Regions from separate parts of the Homo sapiens genome. Here regions 1 and 3 are each linked to region 2. The links are contacts of gene promoters, found by promoter capture Hi-C in blood cells and fetal thymus (Javierre and others, 2016). All regions are on one chromosome and are shown on one strand. The core of a region is centred on a gene start or on the middle of the fragment in contact, and the rest is flanking DNA. Distances in the headings are between cores, read along the strand shown.

What was found. The method cuts DNA at HindIII sites, captures the fragments that hold promoters and counts their contacts. A CHiCAGO score of 5 or more calls a contact.
Region 1: the fragment with the promoter of EXT2 here is called in contact with the fragment with the promoter of API5 in region 2 in 2 of 17 cell types (total CD4 T cells and total B cells); the score reaches 6.2 in total CD4 T cells.
Region 3: a contact is called between a fragment that was not itself captured here and the fragment with the promoter of API5 in region 2, in 1 of 17 cell types (neutrophils). The highest score is 5.3, in neutrophils.

What each region holds. Positions count from the first base shown.
Region 1 is chr11:44,094,346-44,098,265 of GRCh38, reverse strand. EXT2 (exostosin glycosyltransferase 2) reads right to left here and starts at 2,588. Exons shown (of 14, transcript NM_207122.2): 1 at 2,414-2,588. RefSeq lists an enhancer at 1,632-1,681 and a silencer at 2,102-2,721. The HindIII fragment of the contact is 9,066 bases long and covers 1-3,920 here.
Region 2 is chr11:43,310,537-43,314,024 of GRCh38, reverse strand. API5 (apoptosis inhibitor 5) reads right to left here and starts at 2,029. Exons shown (of 14, transcript NM_001142930.2): 1 at 1,829-2,029. The coding sequence starts at 1,897. RefSeq lists an enhancer at 1,501-2,276. The HindIII fragment of the contact is 11,672 bases long and covers 1-2,204 here.
Region 3 is chr11:43,848,812-43,852,649 of GRCh38, reverse strand. The region is part of intron 9 of HSD17B12 (hydroxysteroid 17-beta dehydrogenase 12); the gene reads right to left. Among named protein-coding and RNA genes, the nearest start is that of ALKBH3, 30 kb to the left of the region's middle. The HindIII fragment of the contact is 5,632 bases long and covers 1-3,838 here.

The sequences.
Region 1 (3,920 bases), core at 1,339-3,838, 780 kb before region 2:
ACATGCCAAAGCACAGAGAGATGGAGTATCTCCAAACCATCATCCGAGGAAACAAGTCATAATCTCTCTGTCCAGTGAGACTGCTCCCTACCACCAAGAAGTTAAAATCCCCGGAAGATGACAGACTGAAAGGAATCTTCTACTAATGAAGGTTTATTCCATACAATACCATAACCTGGATCAAAACAAGAATTTCAGCCCTACAAACTTTATCACCTTGAAACACATCAAACCTGCCCCTGCAAAACACTGGAATCATCTGGCTAGCTGTCAAGCACTGAGTCACTGGAAAAGTCTTTTAACCCCAACCTATTGTGAGGATGAGATGCATTTTCTGTTCCTGGAATTATTTATTCCTAAAATTTGCCTGAATAATCTTTCCTTGGTGCTTCAGGTTATAGCCAATCCACTTAGTCCAATGTTTTCAGTCACAGTCTCTTGTCGTTTCAACCTTTTTATTTTTATTTTATTTATTTATTTATTTATTTATTTATTTATTTATTTTTTGAGATGGAGTCTTGCTCTGTCACTCAGGCTGGAGTGCAGTGGCACAATCTCAACTCACTACAACCTCAGCCTCCCAAGTAGCTGGGATTACAAGCGTGTGCTACCACACCCAGCTAATTTTTTTGTATTTTTAGTAGAGACAAGTTTTCATCATGTTGGCCAGCTGGTCTTGAACTCCTGGCCTCAAGTGATCCACCCACCTCGGCCTCCCAAAGTGTTGGGATTACAGGCGTGAGCCACCGCGCCTGGCCTCTTCTTAACCTTTTTAGAAAGGGCCTTACAGCTGAACTCCTGGGGCCACTGCCACACTGGATCTTAACCCAACCATTCCGAAAAACAGAGGAACCAAATATAAGCAAAAGCAAAAAAAGCCACAATTCATTGCCTTACTTGATAGGATTCTTTATAATTAAAGTTATGTTATGGCTAAATGCCCCTAAAAATTATTTTCAATTAAAAACAATGCCCTTTTAATCATGGGAATTATACCATAAGACAATGTGTGTCATTACATAATTAATATGTAAATCTTACTAAGCACTTACTACATGCCAGGGTCTGTTTTAAGCACTTTATAGTGTTAACTTATTTAATCTTCATAACAGCACTATAAGCCAAGCTATTATTACCCTCATTTTACAGATGGGGATAGTACAACAGAAAGTTTAAGTACCTGGCCCAATATTACACAACTGGAAATGCCAAAGCTAGGATTCACAGCATGGCAGTCTGGCCCCAAAACTGATTATCCATTCATACCCTCACATGCAACCAGGAAGTCGGGGAAAGTGAATGATGGAAACTGAATCATCTATTTTATTACAGTGAATAGCCTTTGAGTTCTGAAAGTTACAAACTAAGTCCAGTTAAAGTACATAGAGCACTTACCTGACTTACAAGAAGTTAAGACTTACAAGAATTTAAATGTACATATTTCAAGACCATATCTTCACATAAATAAGTCAAGAACCTTTCTAGATTAGCATTGCCCAATCAGTAACACCAAGCAATTCTTTGATTCTCAAAATTGTGTGTTTAGATCTGGTTCCCACCGAATGTAACAAAGCCCCAAACACCTCTGGACTTCAAGTTGAAGCCCAGAGCCAGTGTGCTTCTGGCCACCTAGTCCCGAGACTAACATGCCCCTGGCCCCGGCCCGACACACCCCCGGGCCACCTAGTCCCTGGCCTAACATGCCACCAGCAATCTAGTCCGCAGTCTAACATACTCCTGCCCCGTCCTGACAGGCCCCCGGCCACCCAGTCCCCTGCCTAACACGCCCCCAGCCACCTAGTGCCTGGCCCAACATGACCCCGGCCACCCAGTCCCCGGCCTAACACGCCCCCGGCCATCTAGTTCCCGGTCACCCAGTCCCCGGCCTAACACGCCCCCGACCACCCAGTCCCCGGCATAACATGCCCCTGGCCCCTTCCCTACCTCGTCCCACGGCTTCTGGCACCGCAAGGGATGCCGCAGGCCACCACCGGACCCTGAGGCGCAGGACATCCCCCTGGGAGGAATCAGATCCCTGTGGCTGGCGGGAAGGTGGCAGCAGGAAGGGAGGGGTCACGGCGGAGGGCGGAGGGCGGGTCGCAGGAGGAAAGGAAGGAGCGGACTGGGGGCGAAGGTTGGCTAGGAGAACAGGTGGGTACCAAGATGCTGAAAGCGCGGCCGCCGCCGGAGGAGAAGGAGAAGCAGGAGTGGAAATCGGAGCGCTCCAAAAGCGGGCAGTCATTGTCACAGCCCCGGCGGGGCTGGGGGTGGCCTCTCGCAGCCCACGGGCCTCCACGGAGCCTCCGCGCGGCCGCGCTCCCTCGGCCCTTGTCCCGACCCAGCAGCGGCCCCCGGAGGCCCGAGCCCTCGCTTCAGCGCCCGCCCGGCCGCCGCCCTGGAGAGCCGCGCTTACCTCGGCCACGGCTGCCTCCCGCTCGGCCCCGAGCTTGGTCACCGGCTCATGCCGCGGGGCGCGGGCCACCTCCGCCCAGGTCGGATCGGTCCGAATCGCCAGCCGCCACTGCCAGGGCCGAGTCTGGGCTGGCGAGCAGCGAGCGAGGGGCCGGTAACCGGGATCCGGGCCGTCTGACACCGAGCGCACTGCGCATGCGGGAGCTGCCGGGCCGCGCCTCCTGCTGGACAGGAGGAGTCCGAGCACCGCTGCAGTGTTTTCCCAGGCAGGCGCGCTCAGGCTCCGCAGTGAAATGCTCAGACAGCCTCATTCATAATTAAAGAATCCTTAAACCCAAACGAGACACCACGCGTTGCTTATAAAACTAACAAATATGTAGACGTTTTATTATAATCAGTTCTGGTGAGCGTATAACATTCCTGGAGGGCAATTTGGTACTATCCATCAAACGGAAAATGCTGGTACCCTTCATTCCAACAAGCTCTCTGTACGGAGTTTGCCCTATGGATATTCTCAACAATGTTTGTCAAAAAGTTCCATGACAGCATTCTTTCTAATCATAGCGAAATGCTAGACACAATCGAAATAAATTATGGAATTTGATTGATTTGAGTAATGTGAGATAGTGCAATATATTTGGGTAAGGAAATATCTCCAAGATATTAGTTAAGATCAAAGCGTAGTCCAAAACAGCGGGCAAGTCACTTTTAGGTAAACTATGCATATGCAAAAACAAGAGGGAGAAATATATAAAGTAGGTGCTTATATTCAGGCATGTGTATAACTTTTTTCTGGAAGGAATGCAAGAAGAAATGAACAGCTTCAGGTGGAGTAGTTGTCGAGGCGGAAATGGAAGCATTTATGGCGAGGAAAGGTGGCTCACGCCTGTAATTCCAGCATTTGGGGAGGCCTAAACGAGAGGATCGCTTGAGCCCAAGAGTTTGAGACCAGCCTGGGCAGCAGAGCAAGACCCCATCTCTACAAAAAATAAAAAGTTAACTAGGCATCGTAGCACACGCTTGTAGTCCCAACTACTTAGGAGGCAGAGGCAGGAAGATTGCTTGAGCCCAGGAGGTCAAGGCTGCAGTGGGCCGTGGTCGTGCCACTGCACTCCAGCCTGGGTGATAGAGCAAGACCCTGTCTCCAAAAAAAAAAAAAAAAAACGCATTTTTGTTTTGTATCTTTCTCTATTATTTACATGATTTAGCCCTATCCATGCACACTAAAACCGCTGTCATAAAGCAGTAAGTGGAAACTAAAAAATTAAATTAAAATTCAGAGCGATGTTATTGAGAGGTTAATGAAATGACCCCTGGGCCTGCGATGTTGGTTTGGTAGAGTTGTGGGTCTGGCTACAGGATCCAAATCCCTTCTGGTCCCAGATGTACTTTGGCGCCATCTGGTGGAAGTTGTCACTGATAGCTTAAATATTCAAAGTGATGATTCTGAGACTAGATACCTACAGAGGCTTCCGGCAGCAACCTCGATTCCAGGGATATTTTTGTGA
Region 2 (3,488 bases), core at 780-3,279:
CTCCACCCTCCGGGTTCAAGCAATTGTCCTGCCTCAGCCTCCCAAATAGCTGGGACTTCAGGCGCATGCCACCACGCCTGGCTAATTTTTGTATTTTTAGTAGAGATGGGGGTTCACCATGTTGGCCAGGCTGGTCTCGAACTCCTGATCTCAACTGATCTGCCCATCCACGCCCCTTAAAGAATTGGGATTACAGGCGTGAGCCACCGTGCCTGGCAGTTTTTACCTTCTTAATGAACAGAATATTCCTCCTTCACAACCGACCTACACACTCTATCCACATGTACAGCAGAACATCCGTATACATTTCTTACTGATAAAAGTGAAATTCCCTACTGACAGGGAATGAAGGAAAAAAAATCATTTGCTATTTCAAACTGGTATATTCTTAATTCTAGATTAAGCTACAATAAATCTCCAACATGAAATTTTTTTTTTTTCGTTCAGCTCAGAAAAGTCCTATTTGAATTATGTTAAGAAAAGGGGACGGGAAAGGTACTCCCACGACTGTTAATAGACTAGAATCTTCCACTTTCTCCAAGAAGGGATGCGTAAGCAGAAAAATCACAAAGTTCTAAGCGCTGAAAAGCTATGGTGTGGGATTTCTAAAACAATGATCAAGGTTACCTCCAGGAGAGCCTGGTTCTTTTCCCAAGAACACACATACCCAACCACTTATCAAGTTCAATGTACTCCAGTACTTGAAAACTCATACAGGGAACAAATGACTTGTATGGATAATTCAACACTGCTGAGAAACTGTGTATCGGGGGCAAGCATCGTTAAGAGAGCTCTTCCAGACAACTCCATTCAGAGCTGCGCACTCACACTCTCCTTCGCCCAGCCCTGTTTTATTTTCTTCAAACATGTTTCATTAAAAAGAATAAATTTTTAAAAAAAACCTTTTTTTTTTTTTTTGAGACGGGGTCTTGCTTTGTCTCCCAGGCTGGAGTGCAGTGAAGCGATCTCGGCTCACCGCAACCTCTGCCTCCCGGGTTCAAGCAATCCTCCCACCTCAGCCTCCTGAGTAGCTAGGATTACAAGCGCGTGTCACCACGCCCGGCTAATTTTTGTATTTTTAGTAGAGACAGGGTTTCACCATGTGGGTCAGGCTGGTCTCGAACTCCTGACCTCGTGATCCGCCCGCCTCGGCCTCCCAAAGTGCTCGGATTACAGGCGTGAGCCACCAAGCCGGGCCTCACAATGCCTATCTTTCTTACTACACTCCCTCCTAACTGTACATTCTGGGAGAGCGCGGACCTTTCCATCTGTATCTCCAGCGCTCGGCACTCAAAAAAATGCACTGAATAAATGAAACCGTGAGCTCTCATCAAAGTCTGGACCAAAGAGTCCCTCTTCTGTTTCTCACAAACTTCTGTCTCCTAAACACTCTTCTTCAATTAGTAGCAGAATTTTGCCTCCCCCCCAAAAAAAACACATCTTGACCTCATGAAGAAAACTCCCGATCTAATCTTGGAAGCACTGAGCTCCACCGAAAAGGAGAAAGGCTTAAGAGAATCCTGTAGAGAAAAGCTCCGTGAGAAGAATTAACGTGAGCCTGAACGGGCTGAGTTAGGTTACGCCACGGTGAGAAAAGGCTGGGCAAGGGAGGCAAGGAAGCCTGGAACCCTGGGGACCGCGGTCTCCCTGGTGAAACCAGAGTCTACACTCCCAGAGAGGCCCACCCCGACGAGACGGCCTGAGGAGGCTAGGAGGCCCCGGGAGGATGAAGCCGCAGCCCCCGCTCGGCCCGGGGAGTGCGGCGGGAAGCGCTTTCGAAAGGCCGCGGAGCGCCAGGCCCTGCAGGCCGCCCGGGGACTCAACTCACCTGGCCCACTTGCTCCGTGGCATCGGCCAGGATGCCATAATTGCGGTAAAGCTCCTCTACTGTCGGCATGGTGAGCGACAAGCCCAGGGCCCGGTTCCGCTATCCTTGTCCTGACCGGCGCCACCGCCGCCTCGGAACTTCTCCAAACCCACTACCCGCACTATTACACCTCCAGCTGCCGCCAGTGCAGCCGCCAGTCACCGCGCACAGCGCGGCTGCGCCCCCGACGTCTACGTAAAGACGCGCACGTCGGGAGCGGCCTTCAGTAGACACCCCCCACCCCAATGCGCCTCCGCGGTTTTTGTCGCCCTCTACAGCCTGGAGGAGCAAAAAAGCGGCAAGGATGATTGAATTAGCTCACGCCTTTTTGAAAGCTTGAGCTTGGCTGCAGGCTCTCCATGGAAGGGGTGTGGGTGGGCGGGGAAGTGAATACAAAGACAATTGCGTTTCTGCCCTTAGAAGATCTTACATATGAGAAGTCACAAATGGTTTCCTCCTGATTCAAGGAAGGTAATATTAATCGGTGGCACTAGAGGCTAGTGGGTCCGGTGGGAAGCAAAAAACATTCCTATGCTATTAAAAAACCCTCTGTGTCCACCACGCTCATCAAGTGCGGGGTCAAATTTGGCCTGCTGGAAGAATTTGCTTATCTTTGCTGCCAGTGTAAAGAATTGGGGCCACCTGATTATGTCCAGTATCCAAAAGAATAATAAATAAATGAAATCACGTACGCTTACTGATAAGAATTTCTAAGATACAAGTTTAAATGAAATTATATATATAATATGATATAATATATAATATTTTATATATTATATAATATATAACATTATATATTAATATATAATAATTTTATATATTATATAATATATAATATTATATATTAATATATAATATTATATATTATATAATATATAACATTATATATTAATATATAAATATATAATATATAATATAAATATAATAATATTATATTAATATATAAATATATAATATATAATATAAATATAATAATATTATATTAATATATATTAAGATAATAATATTAATTAATACATTAATTATATAATATAATTATAATATATCTATATATTGAGATATAATATTAATTAATATATCAATATTATCAATTATATATTATAATTATCTTATATTATATATAATATATTAATTATATAATTAATATATTAATATTATTATCTTAATATATATTAATATATTATTATATTTATATATCATATATAATATTATGATATTAATATTATAATATATATTATATATTATATTATATATACAATTATATATATAATATATATTATATATTGTATATTATTATATAATTATATATTAAGATAATAATATATATTAAGATAATAATATATTATATATATTAAGATAATAATATATATTATATATATTAAGATAATAATATATATTTATATATTAAGATAATTATATTTATATAATAATATTATATATATATATAGCCGTGTGCGGTGGCTAACGCCTGTAATCTCAGCACTTTGGAAGGCTGAGTTGGGTGGATCACTTGAGGTCAGGAGTTCAAGATCAGCCTGGTCAACATGGTGAAACCCTGTCTCTACTAAAAATACAAAAATTAGCCAGGCGTGGTGGCATGCACCTGTAGTCCCAGCTGCAT
Region 3 (3,838 bases), core at 226-2,725, 540 kb before region 2:
AGTTCAGTGAGGCTCTCACAATGGGTCAGTAAAGAAAAGGTTATTTCCCAGAGTAAAGTTGAGCAGTAAGGAAAGAAAGAGTATATGTAAATACTCTGATCTCACATAATGAAGGAACATAAGCAAACCATTTCTCATTTCTATGCATTAGGTTTAAAGGTCACAAAATAGTGAAGATTAAAAAAAAAAACCCAAATATAGATCACAAGCCTGGTAAAGGTATTGTAAGATTTTGAGCTTCTAGAGGTAGAGATGGTCTAATCATTATACCTCTCAACTGCGTTATAATTTTTTGTTCCTTTCGTCCATCCTTTTTGCCATCTTCTTCCCTCCCTTCGTATGTAACATGGTATAAATTGGACTACTTTGATCTTGTAGGAGAATTAAGTTGCACTGCCTGACTGAACCACTTGGTGGTGCCACAAGTTAACTCTTCATGCAGCTAAACCATAGAGCTAGTCTAGAGAACCCCCAGATCAAGGGGTGGGGACAAGAGATGCATACTCAGGAATTCCAAGTTGGGTTATGTTTTTCCAGCTAAGAAATGTAAATTCTTTTCTAGAAAGTATATTTATTTCCACGATGGTTTAAAATCAAGGCAGTTAACATGGCCTAGTGGAGGGTTCAAAGACGAAACAGCGTTTGAGCTAAGTCTTAAATGAAGTGCAAGAATTTCCCTAATTGTAAACAAATAAGGGAACAGCAGGAGCCAAGAAAAGGAGCCACAGAAGAGCATGATGTTTTTCAGGGAACTGCATAGCTCAGGATGGTTCAAATGTTGGAAATGTGTGAAGAGTGGCAGGAGGGAGGCAAAACGGTACAGAAAACTGAATCCAATCACTGGGCAGTATCCATTTCTAGAACACAAGCTCCATGAAGGCTTGGTCATATTCATATATTTTAATGTTTTAGAACAGTACTTGGTACATAGCAGGGGTACAATTAATATCTATTGAATGAATTGGTGAAAGACACTTCATTATGGACAGCACCGAAGAAGAGTACTGGGGTCTCTTTCCACTGCTATGATCCAGAAAATTAATTACACCAAGAAGTTGATAATATGAATGTTTAAGCCAAAATTTTAGAAATTCTGAAGCATATATAAGAGCACCTATCTAAACAGGCATACTTATAGCTACTTGCCAATGATTTAAAAATAAATATTCCAAGTTATATGAAAGTAAAGAAATATCTTAGATATCAAAAAGCCATCTAGGTACACCCTTCAACTGTTAAATAAAAACCCAACAAGGGATAATTAGTTGATTTCTCCTGCTTACTCAGGAAAACATTATGGGAAACAGGTCAAGAAGATACTCATACTTTTATAGGAAATTGTGGGCAGAACAGATTTTTCAAGTTGCTCAATTTCAACAAGTTCCCATTACAAATATTGCCAGCTCAGAAACAACCTGACCTTGAGAGCTGCAGATGTGGGCAAGTATCCTGGTCTTCAAATTTAGCATTCCCACATGGCAAATAATTAATTAGGCCATAAAGCAAAGCTGTTGGTGCTTCCTTGCTCAGCCTATTTTAAAACAATAAAAATAAAAAAAATAAAATCACTGGAGACAACTTGGTATCTTGAGATGGAGCCTCGCTCTGTCACCCAGCCTGGAGTGCAGTGGCGCCATCTCGGCTCACTGCAACCTCCACCTCCCTGGTTCAAGCAATTCCCCTGCCTCAGCCTCCTGAGTAGCTGCGATTACAGGCGCCTGCCACCACGCCCGGCTAATTTTGTATTTTTAGTAGAGATGGAGTTTCTCCATGTTGGCCAGGCTGGTCTCGAACTCCCGACCTCAGGTGATCCGCCTGCCTCAGCCTCCCAAGTGCTGGGATTACAGGCATGAACCACCGCACCAGGCCCGACAACTTGGTATCTTTTTTCTCACCCACTGGAGCAGCTTGCTTAGATAACTGGACTGCACAGTACAATTCAGGGGGCTTGATTCAGAAGAGGAAGGCTTATGGCCATGGAGTAGTGGAAAGAAAGATGCCTGAAACTGCATGGCAGATATTCAAGAATCAGGGATTGAACCTTGGAACTTAACATGGTAGGGCATCTTTCAGGTGTCATCATCTGTGTACTAAACATGCTTTTCAACTGAAAAATGACCAGAACATCAGATGACAATGACCTGGGAAAATGAAGACCCAGAATACACTAGGGTCTAGTGTATTTGCACAGTATGAGATTTCATACATGGTGTCACATCTGCCTTTACCGAGCATTAAATTCAACCGTGTAGCCAGCACACACTCTTAAGGCAGAAGCTGGGGCTCCTATGAAGAATATTAGGAAAACTCCATTTCCTGAAATCTGTGTATTCATCTACGATTTCAGGATCTGGTATACAAAAACTTAAATAATTATACACCTATATTATAGTTTTGGAGTGCGTATTACTTTACTTGCAGACCACGAAATTAGCTTTTCCATATAAAGGCCCTTGATTATCTACTTGGCAGAAACCCTTAGACTTTCTAGAAATTTTAGGAAAAAGGAGTTGTTCTGCTGGTGCAGAGATCCCTGGTTATATAGCAATGAAAAAAGGCCCTGCAATAACAATACATATAAATCTTAGCATCTAAATCCAAAATGAAGGAGTTCAAAGTATTGTGCTCTACACAAAGATCCTTGATAAATGTTGGCTGATAATCTTGTAAATAACCTACCTCCAAAGATGTGGAATTTGTATGTTAACATTCAAGGAACAAAAAGAAAAACAGTGTAATCTCACAAAAGGCATTCACTTAACACTAAACTATTTCCTGAGCACCTACTAGAACAATGTTTTAGGCATGGGAACTTAATGAATAAAATTCATTGTGAATAAAAACAGAGTCCCTAATCTTACAGAGCTTACATTTCAGTAGGAGGATATAGACCACAAACAAATAATAATTAAAACAAAGGTGTACAGTATTGGCAGGCAATGATAAAAAAGCAAGATGAAAAAAATACCTGGGTAAAAGAGCTGATAGAGGCTGAGCCTGCAGGTGAGTTCTCAAGAAAGGCCCCTTTGATGTGGTGACTTATAACCAAAGATCTGAACAAAGAGATGGAGTTGGCCAAAAGAATATCTGGGTGAAGAGCCTTTGAGACTGAAGGAACAAGTGCAAAGGCCCTGAGGTGAAGGCATCCTCAAAGTGTTTCCAGAATTGGAAGGAGGCCACAGAAGTAGGAAGGTGGGGAGGGGACATGATAACGTGGAAGTTTGAAATCAGAACATTGAGGGTCATAAAAACTCATGGTTTCATTGTGAAAGAGATGAGAAGCCAAGGAAGAATTTTTAGCATAGCAGTGAAGTAACTGGATTTTTTTGTTTTGTTTTGTTTTGTTTGAGATAGTCTCGCTCTGTCACCCAGGCTGGAGTGCAGTGGTGCGATCTCAGCTCACTGCAACCTCCACCTCCCGGGCTCAAGCCATCCTCCCACCTCAGCCTCCCAAGTATCAAGGACCACAGGTGCACACCACCATGCCTGGCTAATTTTTTAATTTTTTTGTAGAGACAGGGTTTCACCATGTTGCCCAGACTGGTCTTGAACTCAATGAGCCCAAGCAATCCATACATCTCAGCCTCCCAAAGTGTTGGGATTACATGTGTGAGTCACTGTGCCCAGCTGGATTTTATTTTAAAGAGATCATTCTGGCTGCTATGAGTAGGCTATAGGGGCTGTTAAACCACGATGGGTGTAGGAAGGCCAGATAGTAAGATACTGCAAAATGTCCAGGACAAGCTATGATGGTGGCTCAGATAGAGTGGTAGTAGTGGAGGTCATGAGAAGTAGTCAAATAGTGGGTATGCTGCAAGGATTTCCTAAAGGATTAAGT